Regions from separate parts of the Homo sapiens genome. Here regions 2 and 3 are each linked to region 1. The links are contacts of gene promoters, found by promoter capture Hi-C in blood cells and fetal thymus (Javierre and others, 2016). All regions are on one chromosome and are shown on one strand. Each heading gives the region's core, a stretch centred on a gene start or on the middle of the fragment in contact. The rest is flanking DNA. Distances are from core to core; before and after follow the strand shown. Region 1 holds the start of SLC39A9 (solute carrier family 39 member 9). Region 2 holds the start of PSEN1 (presenilin 1). Region 3 overlaps MAX (MYC associated factor X).

The links. Contacts are between HindIII fragments. The CHiCAGO score rates a contact against its expected background, and 5 or more counts as called.
Region 2: the fragment with the promoter of PSEN1 here is called in contact with the fragment with the promoter of SLC39A9 in region 1 in 2 of 17 cell types (naive CD4 T cells and naive CD8 T cells); the score reaches 9.1 in naive CD4 T cells.
Region 3: a fragment that was not itself captured here is called in contact with the fragment with the promoter of SLC39A9 in region 1 in 2 of 17 cell types (fetal thymus and naive CD4 T cells); the score reaches 9.3 in fetal thymus.

Annotation. Positions count from the first base shown.
Region 1 is chr14:69,396,989-69,401,443 of GRCh38, forward strand. SLC39A9 (solute carrier family 39 member 9) reads left to right here and starts at 1,704. Exons shown (of 7, transcript NM_018375.5): 1 at 1,704-2,477. The coding sequence starts at 2,382. ERH (ERH mRNA splicing and mitosis factor) reads right to left here and starts at 1,311. Exons shown (of 4, transcript NM_004450.3): 1 at 1,243-1,311. The coding sequence starts at 1,245. RefSeq lists enhancers at 311-819, 820-1,327, 1,529-2,728, 1,657-1,996 and a silencer at 1,320-1,560. The HindIII fragment of the contact is 688 bases long and covers 1,480-2,167 here.
Region 2 is chr14:73,135,159-73,139,566 of GRCh38, forward strand. It overlaps PSEN1 (presenilin 1), which reads left to right and starts at 1,349. Exons shown (of 12, transcript NM_000021.4): 1 at 1,349-1,425. RefSeq lists silencers at 1,129-1,208, 1,469-1,528 and an enhancer at 1,699-1,808. The HindIII fragment of the contact is 2,442 bases long and covers 97-2,538 here.
Region 3 is chr14:65,095,425-65,099,721 of GRCh38, forward strand. The region is part of intron 2 of MAX (MYC associated factor X); the gene reads right to left. Among named protein-coding and RNA genes, the nearest start is that of MAX, 4.9 kb to the right of the region's middle. The HindIII fragment of the contact is 1,125 bases long and covers 2,201-3,325 here.

The sequences.
Region 1 (4,455 bases), core at 454-2,953:
TACTATAATAATTGTATTCCAATTCTAATGCAAATTAAAGGACTAATTTGAAAGGGTAAGAATGGAAAAAGCTATACAGCATGTTGCTTTTTATATCTAGTCTTAAAATGAACACCGGGCAAAGTTTACTATTTTCAGTACTTACTGCCCAAAGACAAGGATTAAAAATCACTAAGAACATAACATGATACATTTTAAAAACTGTGGTCAAGTGGTTATCATTTTTAAATGGCAATGCTTTCCTGCTCAAATTCTTTACAGATTATACCACCTCTCAAGCCAGTTTTGGTCACTTTCTTCGAATTGGAGCTTACTGATCATCCCGGTTGGGTTCTAATAGAGCTGGTCTCTGAGCTGAGCCTACTTTTCAGCCTCCAGCCCCAAGAGGATATAAATACAGATAAGTACAGGATCGAGGGCTGAGGGACGCGCCACACGCAATACCTAGAGGTCTCAAAAACAGGAAAAAAAAAAAAAAGGCAGAGCACAGGAAAACGAAAGCTGAAAAAACACTGCAAAGCAAATACGTCCTCTCCTGGCCCACATGCTGGGTATAGCTGGATCTGTCAGCTTCGAGAATAGTTAGACAACCCTGGCCCATTGTTCCTACAGCAGGCTAGAGCATTTGGAGGGAAAAATACCATATCCGGCAGGGCCCGGTGGCTCACGCCTGTAATCCCAGCACTTTGGGATGCCGAGGCGGGTGGATTGCTTGAGGTCAGGAGTTCGAGACCAGCCTGGCCAACATGGTGAAACGCCGTCTCTGCTAAAATAAAAAAATTAGCCGAGCGAGGTGGCGGGCGCCTGTAATCCCAGCTACTAGGGAGGCTGAGACAGGAGAATTGCTTCAACCCAGGAGGCAGAGGTTGCAGGGGTCTGAGATCCCGCCACTGCACTCCAGCCTGGGCGATAGAGTGAGACTCTCTATCTCAAAAAACAAAACACCTCCCCCACGTCTCCCTCTACCGAGTAACAATCGGGAGAGAGTTCATCCTCAGGCCCAAGGCACGCCGGACCCGAGCGAGCAGGCGGGCGCGCAACCGCAGGGCGGACCGGGGCTCCGAGGCCTAGAGTCAGGCCTGGCGTCCCTGCGGCGGGAAGAAGGGTCAATCCACCGACTAGAGTGGCGGGGAGCATCACGCGGCGCTGCATGGGGCTCGTGGGGAGGGGAAAACGTATGGGGCTGGGGTCGCTCTGGAGGCCGGGGACTCGGACTCGGGTAGCCGCGGAGGCCTTTCTCACCATCGCGCCAAACTCTCTTCGCTACAGCAGCTGCCGACACCGCCGCCGTTACACGAGCTTAACTACAACGCCGCTAACAGCCAATCCTCGCGAGAGGAGCCGCCGGAAGTCGTCGAAAGTGCAACGCAAAAGAGCCTTTTGGATCATAGAGGCACAGTCACTTCCGGCAGCTAGAGCAGCTACTGACTCTGTTTCAGCCATCTTCGATAAAGGCAAAAAGGTAAGGGAAAGTTTCCAAGCTTTAGGAAGAATTATTTTTTTTCAAGACGCTGTCTTCCGTACTTTCGTTATTAAACATACGGCTCAAGTGATCACCGGTATAGACAGTGACATCAGACATCTTTCATTAGCCCTACTCAAAAATGGCGGCAACGTAAGTATCCTGGGCCGGAGGTCGGTTGTAACCCGGAAGTGCCTTTGTAAAGGAGGGGGTGGTTAGACAATCCGGAAGTGGATGGAATGAAGAGATGCCACTTGGCGGCCATGGCAGCTGTAGTATCGGCGACTCCGGGTCAAGGCCCGGTCGAGTGCAGTACCATGGGCAGCACCGGGTATAGGGCAGAGACAGCTTTGTGTCAACTTTGCTGCTGAACCCCTAGGACCCATCGTTAGAGACCTGCAGGACTCCTTTCCTCATCCCAGGCTCGGAGGAGAGTTTGCTGGGACTGGTGGGCTGGTTTCCTGCTCTGGGGGGCGGATCACCTTCGGGGCCGCCTCTTGGAGACAGGGGCGCCTAGGGAACGAACAGGTTCGCTTGAGTCACTTACCCGCCGCCGCCTAAGACATTGTGCCACCCTCAATCCGACAATCGAAGAAATCGATCATTCGCACATTTTCCCCATTGACTTTTCCCATCTCTGTTAACCCACGAGAATCTAATGACTGGCATCTGAGAACCCAGAGCCTGGGACCTTAGATTGCTGTAAGCTTTCTCTGGTGCTAATATCAGCAAAAAGGGTCTGTTGCCGGGTACGTTCAAGAGGAAGGTGCCTCGTGAACACATCTGCTGGTGGGAAGGCCTAAAGAACTGGAAAGCCCACTCTCTTGGAACCACCACACCTGTTTAAAGAACCTAAGCACCATTTAAAGCCACTGGAAATTTGTTGTCTAGTGGTTGTGGGTGAATAAAGGAGGGCAGAATGGATGATTTCATCTCCATTAGCCTGCTGTCTCTGGCTATGTTGGTGGGATGTTACGTGGCCGGAATCATTCCCTTGGCTGTTAATTTCTCAGAGGTAAGAAATTCTCAATTTTCTGTCAGCTGTCAGGATGGCTGTGAGATAGTAGTTTTAGTTGCAAAGGGAAGCTGCTTCCCTAGTTAAATCTCAAAGCTGAAGGTCTCATTAAGAAAGACTATCTTTTTTAAAAGATACATGACACTTAATAATAGAAAGAAACCTCATATTCATTAGTGGAATTCTTAACCTGGGGTGGATAGATATTCCACGGAAGATCCTGGAGTATTCTGAATCCCCTAGAATTGCTTACAAAAATTTGAGGTTCTGTGCATTTACCTGGAGAGAGGCACCATAACATTTCTTTTGATTCTCAGAGGTTTCATGGAATCAAGATTCCAGATTGTTATCAAGAAAATAAATGGAGGGCTGGGCGCGGTGGCTCACGCCTGTAATCTCAGCACTTTGGGAGGCTGAGGTGGAAGGATCGCTTGGGCCCAGGAGTTCTAGACCAGCCTGGGCAACGTGGCGGGACTTTGTCCCTACAAATGAGGCTGAGGCAGGAGGATCGCTTGACCCCAAGTGGTTGAGGCTGCAGTGAGCCGTGTTTGGGCCACTGCACTCCAGCCTGGACAGCAGAGTGAGATCCTGTCTCCAAAAAAGAAAAAAAAAGAAATGGAGAATGTTATTTTTCTACATGAACTGAAATCAATATGATAACTTCCTTTTGAGAAAGTCAAACACACCTTTCTGAGGAAAGCTGTTTTGTTTTTTGGATGTCTGTACTAGAATGAATGTAAGAAAAAACTAAGATTGTTCTTAACTCACATTTCCTTTTAAAGAAGGGGAGCCTTGGAATTGATATTCTGAAGTTGTTTCAAATCTATTTGCTTAGCAATGAATTTTTGGTTAATACGTTTTGACATTTTCGTTAATTTGATTGGCACCTTGAACAGATGTTAAGCGAGGGTCCCGGGAAGAGGGATAGATGAAAGCACTGTTCAGTGAACATGCTGATAGGTCCTTTAGGTAGGCAAAAGGAATTCACGAAGTGCACAGCGTTCAAAGATTTAGGGGGGAAAAACTACTACATTCAAAGGGAACAAGATTTCATGAGTTTGTCCTAGAGTTCAGCAGTAAAATAGGCCCTAGTTTCAGTGCCATTCCTGAAAGTACTTTCAAAGGAGGCCTGAAGTAGAAAGGAAAGGTATAAATGAAATATTAAGTACACCTTGAAGAAACCTGAGGAAGAGGAGACATTACAGGTGAAAATAGCCTGTGGGTGGGAAAGAAGGTGGGACAAGGTGTTGTCAGTTTGAGGAAAAGTAAAGCCCATAGCCAGATGGAACAGATGCTTAAATTGTTGTTGTTCTTTTTCTGTTTCCTTTTTAATCTGTACCCCTCAGCATCTAATGATAGCATTTTAAAAAATTACGTGCATTACCTAACTTCACTTAAAAAACTCAAGCTGGGTGCGGTGGGGCGCGCCTGTAGTCCTAGCTACTCAAGAGGATAAGGTAGGAGGATTGCTTGAACCCAGGAGTTGGCCTGGGCAACATTGAGACTCTTTCTCTTAAAAAAAAAAAAAAAGAAAATAAAAATCAGTGACATATAGATGAGGAAACGGAGACTGGATAGGTTCATGAAGTTTGTTAGAATCAGAAGAGAGGTATTTTTTCAGTCTAGCTTTTCTGACTCAGACTAGTTCGTAGCCACTAAGCATTTCGGCAAAGGTACATGGTACATATACATGGTAGCCTGTGTGCCAAATCCAGCCTGCAGACTGTTCCATTAGCAGAAGTTTATTATTGTTGTTCTTTACCAGTATTTCCTAGAGGCAAAGGTTGGGTCGGGCTGAGTAGCAGCTGTTAGGCACAGTCCTCCTTGCCCTTGAAGCCTGTTTCACTTATTTGGGTTACCTGCCTGCCCAGTACTTTGTGAACCTGCTATGTTTCCTTTGACATAACCATATTTTCTTATAACTATATTAGAATTGAATTGACATTAGTAGGGCTGACATGTGTGAGATTTGGGTTGG
Region 2 (4,408 bases), core at 99-2,598, 3.7 Mb after region 1:
GAAGAATTTTAAAAACATCTTTTTTCGTTCAACCTTCTCCCACAACTTATCTTTCATTCTGCTAATGGAAAATATTACTTTTGTTCTTAAATATGAAGCTTTTGTGTGTAAAAAGTATTAGAATCTCATGTTTTTGAACAAGGTTGGCAGTGGGTTGGGAGGAGGGATTGGAGATTGATGCGATAGGAATGTGAAGGGATAGCTTGGGGTGGATTTTATTTTTTAATTTTAATTTTTATTTTTTGAGATGGAGTCTTGCTCTGTCTCCCAGGCTGGAGTGCAGTGGTGTGATCTCAGCTCACGGGTTCAAGCGATTCTCCTGCTGCAGCCTCCCGAGTAGCTGGGATTACAGGAGCGCGCCACCACACCCGGCTAATTTTTTTGTATTTTTAGTAGAGACGGGGTTTCACCATGTTGGTTAGGCTGGTCTAGAACTCCCAACCTCATGATCCGCCTGCTTCGGCCTCCCAAAGTGCCGGAATTACAGGCGTGAGCGACTGCACCCGGCCGCTTGGGGGTGGATTTTTAAAGAAACTTTAGAAGAATGTAACTTGCCCAGATACCATGTACCGTTAATTTCATTTTCGGTTTTTTGAATACCCATGTTTGACATTTCTCCGTTCACCTTGATTAAATAAGGTAGTATTCATTTTTTAGTTTTAGCTTTTGGATATATGTGTAAGTGTGGTATGCTGTCTAATGAATTAGACATTGGTACTGTCTTTACCAAAACTGGACAAAGAGCAGGCAGATGCAAAAATCAAGTGACCCAGCAAACCAGACACATTTTCTGCTCTCAGCTAGCTTGCCACCTAGAAAGACTGGTTGTCAAAGTTGGAGTCCAAGAATCGCGGAGGATGTTTAAAATGCAGTTTCTCAGGTTCTCGCCACCCACCAGAAGTTTTGATTCATTGAGTGGTGGGAGAGGGCAGAGATATTTGCGATTTTAACAGCATTCTCTTGATTGTGATGCAGCTGGTTCGCAAATAGGTACCCTAAAGAAATGACAGGTGTTAAATTTAGGATGGCCATCGCTTGTATGCCGGGAGAAGCACACGCTGGGCCCAATTTATATAGGGGCTTTCGTCCTCAGCTCGAGCAGCCTCAGAACCCCGACAACCCACGCCAGCGCTCTGGGCGGATTCCGTCAGGTGGGGAAGGCCAGGTGGAGCTCTGGGTTCTCCCCGCAATCGTTTCTCCAGGCCGGAGGCCCCGCCCCCTTCCTCCTGGCTCCTCCCCTCCTCCGTGGGCCGGCCGCCAACGACGCCAGAGCCGGAAATGACGACAACGGTGAGGGTTCTCGGGCGGGGCCTGGGACAGGCAGCTCCGGGGTCCGCGGTTTCACATCGGAAACAAAACAGCGGCTGGTCTGGAAGGAACCTGAGCTACGAGCCGCGGCGGCAGCGGGGCGGCGGGGAAGCGTATGTGCGTGATGGGGAGTCCGGGCAAGCCAGGAAGGCACCGCGGACATGGGCGGCCGCGGGCAGGGCCCGGCCCTTTGTGGCCGCCCGGGCCGCGAAGCCGGTGTCCTAAAAGATGAGGGGCGGGGCGCGGCCGGTTGGGGCTGGGGAACCCCGTGTGGGAAACCAGGAGGGGCGGCCCGTTTCTCGGGCTTCGGGCGCGGCCGGGTGGAGAGAGATTCCGGGGAGCCTTGGTCCGGAAATGCTGTTTGCTCGAAGACGTCTCAGGGCGCAGGTGCCTTGGGCCGGGATTAGTAGCCGTCTGAACTGGAGTGGAGTAGGAGAAAGAGGAAGCGTCTTGGGCTGGGTCTGCTTGAGCAACTGGTGAAACTCCGCGCCTCACGCCCCGGGTGTGTCCTTGTCCAGGGGCGACGAGCATTCTGGGCGAAGTCCGCACGCCTCTTGTTCGAGGCGGAAGACGGGGTCTGATGCTTTCTCCTTGGTCGGGACTGTCTCGAGGCATGCATGTCCAGTGACTCTTGTGTTTGCTGCTGCTTCCCTCTCAGATTCTTCTCACCGTTGTGGTCAGCTCTGCTTTAGGCATATTAATCCATAGTGGAGGCTGGGATGGGTGAGAGAATTGAGGTGACTTTTCCATAATTCAGGTGAGATGTGATTAGAGTTCGATCTGCGGTGGTGGCAGAGGCTTACAAGAAACACTAACGGGACATGGGAACCAATTGAGGATCAGGGAATAAAGTGTGAAGTTGACTAGGAGGTTTTCAGTTTAGAACATGGCAGAGACATTCTCAGAAATAAGGAAGTTAGGAAGAAAGACCTGGTTTAGAGAGGAGGGCGAGGAAGTGGTTTGGAAGTGTCACTTTGGAAGTGCCAGCAGGTGAAAATGCCCTGTGAACAGGACTGGAGCTGAAAACAGGAATCAATTCCATAGATTTCCAGTTGATGTTGGAGCAGTGGAGAAGTCTAAGCTAAGGAAGGGGAAGAGGAGGCCAAGGCAAACACTTAGGAACACTTGCAACGAGGGGGTGGAAGAAGAGCAAGGAGCCAGCTGAGGAGAATGAGTGTGGTTGGAGAACCACCACAGCGCAGGGTCGCCAGAGCTGAGGAAGGGGAGGGAAGCTTCAGGAAGGAAAAGGTTGGCAGGGATTTTGAGTGTTAGGCCTGGTGTAGCAGAAGGAACAGAAGATTTAGAGCAGCGCTAGCCAATAGAAATAAAATGTGAGGCCCGGGGCGGTGGCTCACGCCTGTAATCCCAGCACTTTGGGAGGCCGCGGGGCGGATCCTTGAGCTGAGGAGTTCGAGACCAGACAACACGGCGAAACCCCGGCTCTACAAAAAATTAGCTGGGCGTGGGGGCGCGCGCCTGTAGTCCCAGCTGCTCCCAAGCGAGGCTGAGGCAGGAGAATCACTTGAACCCGGGAGAAGGAGGTTGCAGTAAGCCAAGATTATGCCACTGCACTGCAGCCTGGGCAAAAGAGTGAGACTGTCTCAAAAAAAAAAAAAACCTGTTTTGTTTTTCTTTTGGAGAAAAGGCATACAAATTTATTAGCATGCAGACTGGGAGAACCACAAGGTGATTATCCCTATTTTAAATTTTCTAATAAACATACTATTATTTATTTATTTATTTATTTATTTATTTATTTATTTATTTTTTGAGACGGAGTCTGGCTCTGTCGCCCAGGCTGGAGTGCAGTGGCGCGATCTCAGCTCACTGCAAGCTCCGCCTCCCGGGTTCACGCCATTCTCCTGCCTCATCCTCCCCAGCAGCTGGGACTACAGGCGTCCGCCACCACGCCCGGCTAATTTTTTTGTATTTTTAGTAGACACGGGGTTTCACCGTGTTAGCCAGTATGGTCTCGATCTCCTGACCTCGTGATCCGCCCGCCTCGGCCTCCCAGAGTGCTGCGATTACAGGCGTGAGCCACCCTGCCCGGCCGGCTATTTATTTTTTTAGAGATGGGAGCCTCACTATGTTGCCCAGGCTGGTCTTGAACTCCTGGAGTCAAGTGATCCTCCCGCCTTGGCCTCCCAGAGTGGTGGGATACAGGCACAAGCCACTGTGCCTAGCCATAAACACATTTTTAAAGGTAAAAAAAGGCCGAGCGCGGTGGCTCACCCCTGTAATCCCAGCACTTTGGGAGGCCGTGGCGGGCGGATCATGAGGTCAGGAGATCGAGACATCCTGGCTAACACGGTGAAACCCCATCTCTACTAAAAAATACAAAAAAAAAAAAATTAGCCGGGCGTGATGGCGGGCGCCTGTAGTCCCAGCTACTCGGGAGGCTGAGGCAGGAGAATGGCGTGAACCCGGGAGGCGGAGCTTGCAGTGAGCGGAGATCGCGCCACTGCACTCCAGCCTGGGCGACAGAGCCAGACTCTGTCAAGAAAAAAAGAAAAAAAATGTAAAAAGAGGCTGGGTGGCCGGGCGCAGCGGCTCACGCCTGTAAACCCAGCACTTTGGGAGGCCGAGGCGGGTGGATAACCAGATCAGGAGATGGAGACCATCCTGGCTCACGCGGTGAAACCCCGTCTCTACTAAAAGTACAAAAAATTAGCCAGACATGGTGCCAGGCACTTGTAGTCCCAGCTACTCGGGAGGCTGAGGCAGGACAATGGCGTGAACCCAGGAGGCGGAGCTTGCAGTGAGCCGAGATCGCGCCACTGCACTCCAGCCTGGGCAACAGAGTGAGACTTCGTTTTTTTTTTAAAAAAAGGCTGGGCACAGTGGCTCACACCTGTAATCTGCCAGCACTTTGGGAGGCCGAGGCAGGTAGATCACCTGAGGTCAGGAGTTCGAGACCAGCCTCGCCAAAATGGTGAGACCCTGTGTCTACTAAAAATACAAAAAATTAGCCGGGTGTGTTGGCGTGTACCTGTTATCCCAGCTACTCGGGAGGTGAGGCAGGAGAATCGCTTGAACCCAGAAGGTGGAGGTTGCAGTGAGCCGAGATCATGCCACTGCACTCCAGACTGGGCTACAGAGC
Region 3 (4,297 bases), core at 1,513-4,012, 4.3 Mb before region 1:
GTAGAGGTAGGTACTCTGTATCATACAACTTTAGCGCAAAATTATAGATGCCTTCTAACAGTAGCATGAAATAGTGCGACAGAATTGAACCTATTTAAGTATCTAGTCCTTTTGAACTTACTGTTGTTCCCTCTGATCATCTACATAAAGATAAGTTGGGCTGCGACTATACCTAAGGAGCTTAAAGGCCAAGAGACAATATTTGGCATGTGTCTGCGGCTCCTGTTTGCTATATACTACCTAAGGTGGTTTATTTACATGCAAATTAATTGCCCATCTTTGGTCTCCAGAGCAGCCCAAGATACTCCTGTCTACTAAATCACCCTGATTCTTGGCCCTCCTCCCAGCTAAGAGCTGTGCACCAGAATTACCCACAATCCCTCTTGTTGATACAAATAAAATTCTAATTGTCTGTTTTCTTTCTGGGAGAGCCCTGCAAATCTCAAACAGCTAGAATGAAGTTGCACTTGGTTTCACGTGGACCTGCACTAAAGGGGTGGAGCTAAGTATAATCTAACACCAAAATCATCCCCACAATGCACTACCCCCTCCCATTCACTGAGCTCTGAAAGGACTCAAATGGACAAGTCTCTCGGTTGGAGGATTGTAAGTGAACTTGGCTGTAGATCATGAGCAGAAATCTTGGCTTCTCATCTGGGGAGCCAGCCAAGTTTGAGAAGTTGGCTCAACAAGGAAAGGCAGCAGTCCACTGCCTGGTAGAAAGCCTGGGCTGGGGACTGTTGTTCTCAAAGTAGTGGATGGAATTTCTGTAGTGGTTCCAGGCCCAATTTAACTAGCAGAAGAGTGGAATCTTACACCAATCCCTGCTGCCATGTCCATCCCTGAGCTACTAGTGGAGTCAATTTTAAATCTCTCAGAGACAATGGCAAGGATGTATTTTTCTCTTCCCCAAGCTTGATTTGAAAGAACAAGTTAAAAACATGCAGAACTAACAAGCCTAATTCCAGGCAACTGTGAATTAAATGTTATCACTAATGTTTTGAAAGAGCACATGAAAAACAGAAAAACCTTTACACAAGGCTGAGAATTCTCTGTGGGAAACATTTCCAAACCACAGATCCACCCAGACCAATAACACTGCCCGCGCCTCATCCCCACCCCCATTGGAGGACTAGTTTGCAGGCTTTATCACTGCCTTGTTAACTGTCTTTGCTTGCTGGCAACCCTTTTTGAGAGGGCCAAGATTTCAGAGTTGAAGAAGAAAAACTGGGTGAAGACTCCCAGTGTAAGGCATCTAATATCCTCCCCCAAATGCAAAACTGGTTTTAAAAAACAAGCCCAAACAATTGTCTTGAACAAATAAAACTCTACTCAGATGAGCCTGTACTGAGAATGATGTTCAGTAATGAAAACAAATGGTACGGAAAACCCCCTTGTGGAATTAATTAGGCCCTATTCTAGGAGACCACAGAGGTATTCTTGGACTGTACAGCAGGCTCCCAAACATCTCCCCTACACATCCTATGGTTACAGTGGCTGGATGCTGCCCACTCTTCTAGTACGCTGGATTTGTACGTCTGGATGTCTGCCAGAAAACCCTTCCTCCAGGGCATCCCTAACAGAAATACTAAGGGGCTATGCAGTGGTCCACAGATGCTCAACAGAAACTCCCGCACCAAATCACTTCCAGCTTTGACATCTCTGCCAAAGTTTTTATTCAGCCTCTCAGTTATATTTCTACCCAACTTTCCACACTGGTAGACAGAATAAAAATCTTCACCTACAATTTGTCCATCTTTGACACTACCAAGCACGTGTATCTTAAGTGTTGTTAGATGTTGAAGACAAACATTATTTTGTTAGCCAAGAAGTTGCTATGTTGGCAAGAAGTCATCTAGGCTAAGGAGGTCTGTTCAAAATTGAGGGAAATCTCTTAAAATTATTTCCTTCCAACTTACTGCAGAGAGACTGCATCTTTGTTCAAGGCATCACATCAGTCAGTAATCTTATTTCCTCCAAGTTCTAGGCAAATAGCACGGGGAAATAAATGCTTCATTATTCCAGGATGCACAAGGTTCTCCAGAACAATGCCATGTCTTACAGGCTACCTGACAGCTAACCCCACCTATAAGGGGAACCATCTCAATTCTAATACAGAAAATTCTCAGCATATAGGGAATTAGTTGCCCACTCAATATTTACTACCTTTACAAAATGTGAAGGTTGTATTTTAGAGGGAAGCTTGTGTTGCTTATGATTCTTATCAAGCTATTCTTATTAGAGACTAAGGACACGAGAATACACAGACCCAAAAATCTCATCCGAAAAGATCTATTTCTTACTTCTGATAGATAAGAACAAGATAGGATAAAGCTCAATTTCTAAGCAACTTAAAATATTCATTTTAATCAACCCAAAAATTATAACATAAAATAATAGGCAGGTAGGATGGGATAAACTCACCAAGCTCCCTAAGAGAAAGACATGGATTTCAATTTTCCAATACCTGTCCTGCTTGTAGCTGATTGCCTGGTATACATTTCCAACATTATCTAATGTATGTATTTGTTTTCAAACTTTTTTCTTTTGGTGCCTAAAATAACTGGCAAATGCTATAATCCAAACAGGGCCTCATACTATAGCCATTTCAGAGAAGGATGCCTTGGTCAGGAAATTTTAATTAAAAACCAAGCTGAATTCTTTGACCAACTATTTCACCGTTACTGGCATCTTGGAAAAATTCTTTTAGACATAAGAACAACTTTTACCCTAACACAGGCACATTTAGGAACTAACTCTGGCATTTGTTATCACTGTAAGCATCACTGTCAACACTCTAAGCAGAGAAAAAGTACATGCATTGTGCAGCACTTTTGCCATGCAACTGACTGCAGGTAAAACAGACAGTAGTTTCCTGAGTGAATTCCAATCTCGGAGGCTACCAAGCTCGTTCTCTTCTGAATATTCCTAAAGAAGCAAAGAGCTCTGAGAAGTTAAAAATATTTCATGCCAGAAAGGTCCAGAAGTGGAATTGCACAAATCTGTTTTCAAACCCCTCACAAGTATACTGCAACTGCAACTCAGTCAGGTGCCATCAAGGATGGTCACTGGAAAAAAAATTGCATTTCCTGACCAACACACTAACCCATACATTTCCTGTATACTTACACTCTTTCCTAAAGAAATTTCCCAAACAGAAATAAAGCAAAAGGAAGCCCTTGCAATATAATATACCTGTCCCACAAATTTATCTTTAAAATGCAACCTCTTCCCTCCAAAATATAATAAAAATAACATCAGTGGGATTTTGCGATGTACTGAATTTAGTAGTAAGAATACTCTTTGGGGTTACTTCCTTTAACAAAGCTTACTGGCCATTGGAGAAGCTGTTTTCCGTTTGTACTGAAGCAATAGAAAAAAATATTTGCCAAATCAGTTTCACTTTCTGTTAGAGTTAGCCTAACTTCCTAACTCTCTTCTCAGTATCTTACATTTCTCATGTAGTAAGGCCTATATATTGTAGTGACATTATAAAACATACATGAATGTTTTTATATTAGGATCCACAGAACCCTTTTCAAATAACTTTTTCAACATCTTCTGTAGTCCTGAATACCTAAGTATTTGGTTGTTCACAGTCCACATCTTTTTTTAAACCTTTTTTCTAAGGCAAAACTTAAGAATAGCTCCCTCTTAAATTTTAAAAAATATATTTATTATCCATATTAAATATTGAGAAGTAAGCAGATGCATTCACAGAGGGGAAAAAATGGAATCCTTTTTACCCTACACAGTCACAATAGTTGTTTGATATACTATAAAATTTGTTTATAACATATCTGCTTTTTCTCTCCATGCTGTTGTAATTACATTGTGCAGAGTAATATTTAGAAATATCAACAAATAGATGTGTTAAATTAAAAACAAAGTGTCAAACCAACTTCCTTTGCCTACCCCCAAAATCAAAAGGAAAAATCCTAGGCACCTTAACAGCAAACTAAAAACATCTAGACAAAACAATGAGATTAGCATTCCAGGAAAGCAGAAACATTATAATAATTTAATAACAAATTTATATCAACGATCATATGGATGAAAATTTTGAAAAGCAGAAAGCTTTCAAGAACTGCGAGCCAAAATTTCACCAAAAAAACAAACAAACAAACAAACAAACAAAAAAAACACAACTTTCTCTTACTGGGAAGTCAGTATAATTTCAATTCAAAGGATAATTCTGCAAAGGAAGGCTAAACGATCCTTACCCTCCAGCTCTGATCAAGCCCTAGCACAGATTTTACAACTGGAGACTTGCAGGGAAAAAAAAAGTTTTCAACAG